2 separate regions of the Homo sapiens genome follow, and region 2 is linked to region 1. Evidence: promoter capture Hi-C in 16 types of primary human blood cells and fetal thymus (Javierre and others, 2016). All regions are on one chromosome and are shown on one strand. Each heading gives the region's core, a stretch centred on a gene start or on the middle of the fragment in contact. The rest is flanking DNA. Distances are from core to core; before and after follow the strand shown. Region 1 holds the start of MXD3 (MAX dimerization protein 3). Region 2 overlaps UIMC1 (ubiquitin interaction motif containing 1).

Region 1 (4,783 bases), core at 832-3,331:
CTATACTTAGATAACACCTCTTCATCCATTTCCCCAGTAAAGCCTTCTCTGGCCTCACCAATTAGGTCAAATGTTCCTTAGAATGTGTTGTGGGGCATGGTCTCTCCCTGTGAGGACCTGTCCAGCTGGACCTCCGCCTTCCTGCGACTGTATTGGTGTCTTTCCCTCTCAAGCCTATGAGCTCTGCAAGGGCAGGGACCCTGTATGATTTTGCCTATCGTATGTCCTCCAGCCCCCAGCACAGCGCCTGGTGTCCAGTGAGAGCTCAGCAAATACTTTGTGAGTTAAGGACAGGCGGCTGGGTAGATGGATCGTCTGCCTAGACAGGGCAGTTATTCCGCTGTGAGCAACTCTTAGAGAAACTTCATTTTTTTTCGGCGCCTGGCCGAAACTTCAAGATGTTTCCCGGCCAGGAACGGTGGCTCACACCTGTAATCCCAGCACTTTGGGAGGCTGAGGTGGGTGGATCACCTGAGGTCAGGAGTTCGAGACCAGCCTGGCCAACACGGTGAAACCCCGTCTCTACTAAAAATACAAAAATTAGCTGGGTGTGGTGGTGGGCGCTTGTAGTCTCAGCTACTTGGGAGGCTGAGGCAGGAGAATTGCTTGAACCCGGGAGGCGGAGGTTGCAGTGAGTCGAGACTGAGCCATTGCGCTTCAGCCTGGGCAACAGAGCAAGACTCAAAAAAAAAAAAAAGATTTTTCCCAAGGAACTGAGGCCTGACTGACATGTGCTTGTGTTTACCAGGACTGTCTCTTTACAGAGCATCTATCCCTCCCACCTTCCCTCCCCTCTCTATTTTGGGATTACTGGAGTCACAGACTCAGCCCGTGGCTGGCAGCAATGCTCCACCCTGCTACAGCTGCGTTCATCTTCCTGTCCCCAGATGTGGCCCCACCTGCTGGTGCTGAGGCTAGAAGTCATCACAGCCACTCCTTCGGCCGGCTAGGAGAGTCAGGTGCAAGAAGGGTTTATGGACTCTGAGTAAGGCAAGCAGGGGCTGCCTGGGAGGCAAACGCCGCGGTCTGGTTGCACTGGCCTTTGAGATGGGCGGCTCCTTCATGCCATGGGCACCGCAGAGGCATTGGCTCTGATCCTTCAACGCTGTCGCAGGGCTCCTGAGGCTTAGAGACGGAGGTCACCTCCTGAGTCATACACAGCTGAGACATCAGTGACAGGAGAGGACCCCAACTGCGTGGATACCAGAGCCCAAGGCCCCGGAAAAGGCCATTTCGCGTGCCTCCAGGGTATGGCCTGCCTGAGGAAGCTGTTACCCCACTGACGTTTTCGTAGCAACAACAGCTTCCTCACAGAAGAGGAGGGGGGCCGAGATATTATTCCCATTCGACACAGTAGGAAGCTGGGGCCCACGGGGGCCTTCGGGGGCAGATGGCAGGCAGGCTTGGGGACAGACCCCGGAGGGCAGGAGCCGGGTCCGCCGCCCCTCCGCCGGCGCCTGCGCATTGAGGCCCAGCTCCCCTCTCAACCCCGCCCCATCGCTTGGGTTTTCAAATTTGAAACCTGCTTCTTTTCCCGCCCGAACGTGTGGATCAGCGGCGGGAGAGGGCGGGGCAGAGCGCCAGCCAATAGGGCATCAGAGGCTCCCCGACCCCGCCCCGAGGATGACAACAGCGATCCTTGAGAAGCCATGTGCGAATGGGCGAGCGGCGGCCGGAGGCCCCGCCCCCGCGGCACCCACGTGCAGCGGCTGGGCCCGGCGCTTTCAGGGGACCACCAGGCCCCCAGAGCGCCGTGCTATGTTGGGGGCTAGTCACTAGCACGGGGCTGGAAGCTGAGATCAAAGACGCCAATGAGCCGGCGTGGGTGGATGAGTGAGGCGGGCAAGAAGCAGCACCGGTTAGCCTGAGGGTTCGCTCCAGGGCCAGGCCTGGAGCCAGCGCCCTTACCTGCCCCTGGAAAGTCTGAGACCACTCGGGGCGGGGCGGCTGCCGGAGGGTGGGCTGCGGCTCCGTGGCGGGTTCCAGAGGGGCGGAGCCAAGGGCTGGGCGTTCCCGCGGGCGGGGCGTCCCGGGGGCGGGGCGGGCCCCTGTGTTTGTTGCACCGTGTCAGTTACTTTGTAACAAAAGTGCTGCAGCCGCTTGCTCCGGCCGGCACCCTAGGCCGGCCCGCCGCCAGCTGTCGCCGACATGGAACCCTTGGCCAGCAACATCCAGGTCCTGCTGCAGGCGGCCGAGTTCCTGGAGCGCCGTGAGAGAGGTGAGGAAGGACCCTTGGCTGAATTCCGGGCGGCGACCTCGCTGACACGGGCCTGGACTGGACCTGGCTCCCAGCTTGAAGGATGCACCGCCCTAGGACAGTAATCCCGGGGCGCCTCGCCCTCAACTCGAGAGGAGTCCCGGGGCGGTAGAGCAGGGACGGGTGGGGGAAATGGTCCTGGCGCCAAAAGCCTTTCCTTGACCGTGCTGTGCCTGGGGCTGCCGCTGGGACCAGGTCCAGCCCCAGCCTGACGCGGGCGGGGACTCTCTCTGGCAGAGGCCGAGCATGGTTATGCGTCCCTGTGCCCGCATCGCAGTCCAGGCCCCATCCACAGGAGGAAGAAGCGACCCCCCCAGGCTCCTGGCGCGCAGGACAGCGGGCGGTGAGGAGGCCGGGGGCGGCGGGAGTGGGGGTGGGGGTGGGCGCCGCCCCTGGTCGGGCCCTCCTCTGCCCACTTGTTGCTTGCATCTTTTGGGCCAGGTGTCCCGCTCCAGGAAGCGTTCAGACCCCTCCTGCCATCTCCCCACTCTCCAAACACACTCACACCTTTCTATTCATTCAAGGACTATTTCTTGAGCACCTCTAGATGTGCCGGGAACTGCCAACAGCAGTTGGGGTCCCGCTTCCACTCGCACTCCCGCACCCCACACATCAGGCCACTCACCTCCCCCGCTGGCTTCCTCCTCTTCTCTCCTCTCCCCAGCCCTTTGCATATGCTGTTCCCTCCTATTTGAATGCCCCTCCCTCCAGTACCGGCTTGGGAAACATCTGTTTCCGCAGTTAGCTGTCACCTCTGGGAGGTCCTTTCTGGCCAGCTGGCAGGCGCCCTTGTTAGGGCCCTCATACCCACCTGGGCAGGCTTCTGTTAAGCATTTGGCTCCGTGTGTCTTTGACTCCCCTCGCCCTGCCAGGGGACTCTGGTGTCTGAGGCCAGCATGAGCTCTCCACAGGGGACTTGTTTGGGGCAGACATCTGTAGTGGCTCTTGAGCCACTGGGGGCCCTGGGATTGGGGCATGGGCAGTAGCTGATTCCCCTTCACCTCATCCTCTCTGGCATTGGCAGGTCAGTGCACAATGAACTGGAGAAGCGCAGGTGAGTCCCAGTCCTGCCCTGACAGCGCCAGCCCCCAGGGGCCACTGCCCTCTGGCCTTCCCTCCCCTGCCATTCCTGTGGCCGGCAAGGTGGGGCTGGCACTGCCCTCCAGACCTCTTCCCCACAGGAGGGCCCAGTTGAAGCGGTGCCTGGAGCGGCTGAAGCAGCAGATGCCCCTGGGGGCCGACTGTGCCCGGTACACCACGCTGAGCCTGCTGCGCCGTGCCAGGATGCACATCCAGGTGAGGCCCCCCACTGCGCCCGGACTGGCTTGCCCTGGTGTATGGAGGGCTGTGCTATGGAGGGGCTGGTGGGACTGGGGAACGAGACCTGAGGTCAGAGCTCAAGAACTGTGTGACTTAGGACAGCTCTCTGAGCTTTTACTTTCCAGATCCATTAAATGGGAAGAAAAGCAGACAATAACTCAGAGGGTTGTTGAGGCTTAAATGAGTTCACTCTATAAATGTTCACTGTTGCTGTTACAGCTGTTATCACTTAGATCACAGCTGTGAGACCTTGGGCAGGTTACTTAGCCTGTCTGGACTAACCTTCCCTCCTGTTTGAGGGGAGGGGATGGCTGTTGAATTCTGTGATGGGATGTATGTGGGGGTCCTTGGGACTGTAGAGGGTTGGTCCTTGCTCTCCCCCTCTCACCTTCAAGGCCTCCTGTTATGGGCAGTCTATCCTGGTGCCACCTGGGAGGCAGCTCCAGGGACAGGAGGGGAAAGGACTGAGAAGACGCCAGTCACTGGTCCTCCCAGGGCTCCTGCTGCTGCTGGGGCTGAGCTCAGTGCCCCCTGGTGGACAGGAGTGGATGTGCTGAATAAAGGCCCAGGTGGCCCTGGCCATGTCAGAAGTGGCCTTGGAAACCACAGGACTTTTCCTGCCCTCTAGAGGAATACATGAAGGCACAGCTAGGCTGAGGGCCAACAAGTTGCACAGCTGATGGGCGGCAGATTCAGGACCCATGCCCAGTTCCCTGGCTTGCGTTATCTCCTCTGACAAGTGTTTACTGAGCACTGGTTCTGCTAGGCCCTATTCTAGGCACTGGGGGCTGTGGCACACAAAGACCTATGCGCTGTTAGTAAATAAACCACAGCTGCGGGAACAGCTGCACTGCCGCCCGGCGTCTGTTATTACCATCATTGTGGCTGAGTAACACTCTGGTTGGGTAGTGGCCCAGTTTCTCACACGGAGCTTGCCTGGCCTGGTTCTCGGATGGATGATGTGTGCCCCTCAGGGGCTGGCTGGCCTGTGGGCAGGACCTGGGCAGTGCTCCTTCTCTGGGGCTCCATCACCCCTCTCCTGGATTAATTCACCGGCCTCCTCCCAGCCTTCCTGTTACCTGTTTTGCCTCCACCAGGCTGTCTTCTACTTTGCTCTAGAATGATCTCTGCAGCACACCTATCTACCCAGGCCCATCTCCTGCTGAAAACCCACCAGTGGCCCCTGACAGGACAAAGCCTCTGCTC
Region 2 (5,126 bases), core at 2,088-4,587, 310 kb after region 1:
CAGAGGTTAATTGTTTTATTTTTTATTTTTATTTTTTTGGGAAAAGGTCTCACTGTCACCAGTCTGGAGTGCAGTGGTGCAATCATAGCTCACCACAACCTCGAACTCCTGGGCTCGAGATCCCTTCTCCTCAGCCTTCTGAGTAGCTGGGACTACAGGTGCACGCCACTATGCCCAGCTAATTTTTTTTTTTTTGTTTTTTTTTTTTTGAGACAGTCTTACTGTTGCTCAGGCTGGAATGCAGTGGTGCGCTCTCGGCTCACTGCAACCTCTCCCTTCTGGGTTCAAGCGATTCTCGTGCCTCAGCCTCCCAAGTAGCTGGGATTACAGGTATGTGCCACCATGTCTGGCTGATTTTTTTTTTTTTTTTTTTTTTGGGAAACAGAGTCTCGCTCTGTCGCCCAGGCTGGAGTGCAGTGGTGTGATCTCAGCTCACTGCAAGCTCCGCCTCCCGGGTTCACACCATTCTCCTGCCTCAGCCTCCCAAGTAGCTGGGACTGCAGGCGCCTGCTACCTCGCCCCACTAATGTTTTGTATTTTTTTTTTTTTTTTAGTAGAGCCGGGTTTTCACTGTGTTAGCCAGGATGGTCTCGATCTCCTGACCTTGTGATCCGCCCCCCCTCAGCCTCCCAAAATGCTGGGATTACAGGCGTGAGCCACTGCACCTGGCCCTCAGTTTATTCTTTGTCAAGATTGTTTAAACTGTTCTGGGGCCCATGCCTTTCTATATACATTTAGAATAAGCTTGTTTATGTCTACTAAAAGTCTTAGTGGGATTCTTATAGGAATTGCATTAAACCTAAGATAACGTTCTGTGCTCCCAAAGGTTGAAGAAAAAAAACAACAACCTAGGATCAGTTTGGGGAGAATTGATATGTTTACTATGTTGAAGCTTCCAACCTGTGGGCATGGTATGTCTCTACTTATTTAGATCTTTGATTTCTTTCACTAGTTATTCAAAAAACAAAACCCCATAAAACAACTTACGTATAAGTCTATCCACACACCTGCAGTGAACTCATTTTCGACAAAGTTGCCAAGAACATACACTGGGGAAAAGACAGTCTCTTCAATAGATAGTGCTTAGAAAACTGGATATCTATATGCAGAAGAATGAAACTAGGCCTCCATCTCTTGCCATATACAAAAATCAAATAAAAATGTATTAAATGTATTAAATCTAAGACCTCAAACTATGAAATTACTACAAGAAAACTTTGGGGAAACTCTCTAGGACATTGGTCTGGGCAAAAACTTCTTGAGTAATATCCCATAACCACAGGCAACCAAAGCAAAAATGGACAAATGGGATCACATGAAGTTAAAAAGCTTCTGCACAGCAAAGGAAACAATAAAGTGAAGAGACAACCCACAGGATAGGAGAAAATATTTGCAAACTACCCATCTGACAAAGGATTAATAACCGGAATGTATAAGGAACTCAACTCTATAGGAAAAAAAATCTAATAATCCAATTTAAAAAATGGGCAAAAGATTTGAATAGACATTACTCCAAAGAAGACATGCAGGCTGGGCACGGTAGCTCAGGCTTGTAATCCCAGCACTTTGGGAGTCCGAGGCAGGTGGATCACCTGAGGTCGGGAGTTCGAGACCAGCCTGACCAACATAGAGAAACCCCATCTCTACTGAAAATGCAAAATTAGCCGGGCGTGGTGGTGCATGCCTGTAATCCCAGCTACTCAGGAGGCTGAGGCAGGAGAATCACTTGAACCTGGGAGGCAGAGTTTGCAGTGAGCCGAGATTGTGCCATTGCACTCCAGCCTGGGCAATAAGAATGAAACTCCATCTCAAAAAAAAAAAAAAAAAAAGACATGCAAGTGGAAAACAGGCATATGAAAAGGCGTTCAACATTATTGGTCATCAGAGAAATGCAAGTCACAACTACAGTGAAATATCTCACCCCAGTTAAAATGGCTTATATCCAAAAACACGTAATAGGAAATGCTGGCAAGGATGTGGGGTAAAGGGAACCCTTGTACACTGTTGGTGGGAATGTAAACTAGTACCAGCACTATGGAGAACAGTTTGGCGTTTCCTCAAAAAACTAAAAGTATGCCGGGCGCGGTGGCTTATGCCGGTAATCCCAGCACTTTGGGAGGCCGAGGCGGCGGATCATGAGGTCAGATTGAGACCATCCTGGCTAACACGGTGAAACCCCGTCTCTCCTAAAAATGTAAAAAAATTAGCCAGGTGTGGTGGCGGGCGCCTGTATCCCAGCTACTCGGGAGGCTGAGGCAAGAGAATGGTGTGAACCCGGGAGGTGGAGCTTGCAGTGAGCTGAGATGGCACCACTGCACTCCCGCCTGGGTGACAGAGCGAGACTCCATCCCAAAAAAGAAAACAAAACAACTAAAAGTAGAGCTATCGTATGATCCAGCAGTCCCACTGCTGGGTATGTATCCAAAAGAAAGGAAATCAGTATATTGAAGAGATATCTGCACTCCCAGGTTTGTTGTAGCACTATTTACAATAGCCAAGATATGGAATCAATCTGTGTCCATCAACAGATGAATGGATAAAGAAAATATGGTACTTATACATAATGGAGTACTATTCAGCCATAAAAATGAATGAGATCCTGTCATTTGTAACAACATGGGTGAAACTGGAGGTCATTATGTTAAGTGAAATAAGCCAGGCACAGAAAGACAAACATTGCATGTTCTCACTTATTTGTGGGATCTAAAAATCAAAACAGTTGAGCTAATGGAGATAGTAGAAGGATGGTTACTAGAGGTTGGGAAGGGTAGTGGGGGATGGTGGGGAGGTGGGGATGGTTAGTGGGTACCAAAAAAAAAAATAGAATCAATAAGACCCAGTATTTGATAGCACAATAGGATGACTTATAGTCAATAATAATGTAATTGTACATTTTAAAATAGTATAATTGTATTGTTTGTAACACAAGGATAAATGCTTGAGGGGATGGATACCTTATTTTGTATGATCTGACTATTACATATTGTGTACCTGTAACAAAGCATCTCATGTATCCCATAAATATATGCACCTATGTACCCACAAAAATTAAATTTAATAAAATGTATAAGACTTATATGCTAAAAACTAAAATGTATGTTAGAAAACTTAAAAATACTGCAAGATTTTTTTGAGGATTATTATTATTATTTTTTCTGAGACAGGATCTTGCTCTGTCACTCAGTCTGGAGTGACTGCAGCCTTGATCTCACGGGCACAAGTTATCTCCCACCTCAGTCTCCTGAGTAGCTGGGACTACAGGTATGCAACACCATGCCTGACTGATTTTTAATTTTTTTTTGTAGGGACGGGGTCTTGCTGTGTTGCCCAGGCTGGTCTCAAACCCCCTAGCTCAAACAGTCCTCCTGCCTTGGCCACCCAGAGTGCTGGAATTACAGGCGTGAGACACTGCACCCAGCCTGAGCATTATTTTTAAATTATAAAATGAGCGCAGACTTGTAGGAATTTTGAATAAAGGAGAAAAATACGTATACATTCACTACACTAAATTATTCCAAGGTTTGTATAATTTTTTGTTTTGTTTTGTTTTTGTTTTTTTTGAGACGGAGTTTTGCTCTTATTGCCCAGGCCAGAGTGCAATGGCATGATCTTGGCTCACCGCAACCTCCACCGCCCGGGTTCAAGCGATTCTCCTGCCTCAGCCTCCTGAGTAGCTGGGATTACAGGCATGCACCACCACGCCTGGCTAATTTTGTATTTTTAGTAGAGACAGGGTTTCTCCATGTCTGTCAGGCTGGTCTCGAACTCCTGACCTTAGGTGATCCGCCCGCCTTGGCCTCCCAAAGTGGTAGGATTACAGGCGTGAGCCACTGTACCCAGACTTTTTTTTTTTTTTTTTTTGAGACAGAGTCTTGCTCTGTCGTCCAGGCTGGAGTGCAGTGGTGGCGCAATCTCAGCTTAGTGCAACCTTTGCCTCCTGGGTTCAAGTGATTCTTGTGCCTGAGCCACTCGAGTACCTGAGATTACAGACATGTGCCACCATGCCCAGCTAATTTTTGTATTTTTAGTAGAGATGGGGTTTCACCACGTTGGCCAGGGTGGTCTCGAACTCCTGACCTCAGATGATCTGCCGAAAGTGCTGGGATTACAGGGGTGAACCACTGCAAATAAGTATTTATTGATCCCCTATCATTTGCCACAGCATTTGGTAGGTGCTGGGACTGTTTCTTCCTTGCCTTCCTTAAGGCTATAGTCCATTGAGAAAGACAGACATTTCTTTCTCGATGAAAAATCACGCAAATGAGTGTGTAATTAAAACTGTGTTAACTGATTTTGACAGGTGCATGGTACTTTGAAAATGTATAGTAGAGGTATTTGACCAATCTGGGGAGCCAAGAAAGATTTCTCTGAGAAAGTTATTCTTCTGAAGGATGAGAAGGAATTAACTAGGTGAAGGGGAATGTTGGGGAATCTTCCATTCATAAGAAGCAAGTATAGAGGCCTCATGACATTAAAGGAGTATGGCTGGGGCTTAAGAACTGTGAGAGAGCTTAGAAAGAGCAATCTGGCAGGAGGGCAGATAATACGGGACATACTTTGTAGACTATGTTAAGAGCAAAAATGTCCTAACTATAAAAATAGTGGGAAACCATTGAAATGGGTTTTTTTTTTTTTTTTTTTTTGAGACAGAGTCTCGCTCTGTTGCCCAGACTGGAGTGCAGTGGTGCAATCTCTGCTCACTGCAAGCTCCGTCTCCTGGGTTCACGGCATTCTCCTGCCTCAGCCTCCTCAGTAGCTGGGACTACAGGGGCCCGCCACCACGCCCGGCTAATTTTTTTGTAATTTTAGTAGAAACGGGGTTTCACTGTGTGAGCCAGGATGGTCTCGATCTCCTGACCTTGTGATCCGCCTGCCTCGGCCTCCCAGAGTGCGGGATTACAGGTGTGAGCCACCGTGCCCGGCCTGAAATGTTTTAAGTAGTGGAGTACTTTAAGATTTGCAGTTGAAAAGAAAACAGCTTTGGTGTGTAGAGATTGGAGGGGAACGGTGGTAAAAGTAAGGAACCCAGTTATGAGTCTGTTAAAATTGTCTACACGAGAGTTGTTGGTAGCTTGGATGGTGATAGTGGTGAAAATGAAAAGAAATGGAGAGCTTAAAGAGAGGTA

Evidence for each region. Contacts are between HindIII fragments. The CHiCAGO score rates a contact against its expected background, and 5 or more counts as called.
Region 2: a contact is called between a fragment that was not itself captured here and the fragment with the promoter of MXD3 in region 1, in 1 of 17 cell types (monocytes). The highest score is 5.3, in monocytes.

The regions. Positions count from the first base shown.
Region 1 is chr5:177,309,196-177,313,978 of GRCh38, reverse strand. It overlaps MXD3 (MAX dimerization protein 3), which reads left to right and starts at 2,081. Exons shown (of 6, transcript NM_031300.4): 1 at 2,081-2,218; 2 at 2,495-2,600; 3 at 3,282-3,311; 4 at 3,439-3,553. The coding sequence starts at 2,149. RefSeq lists enhancers at 947-1,006, 2,657-2,856, 3,114-3,980, 4,227-4,276, 4,347-4,416 and silencers at 1,227-1,796, 1,927-2,106. The HindIII fragment of the contact is 10,591 bases long and covers 1-4,783 here.
Region 2 is chr5:176,997,202-177,002,327 of GRCh38, reverse strand. All of the region lies in intron 1 of UIMC1 (ubiquitin interaction motif containing 1), which reads left to right. Among named protein-coding and RNA genes, the nearest start is that of UIMC1, 7.0 kb to the left of the region's middle. The HindIII fragment of the contact is 4,011 bases long and covers 1,332-5,126 here.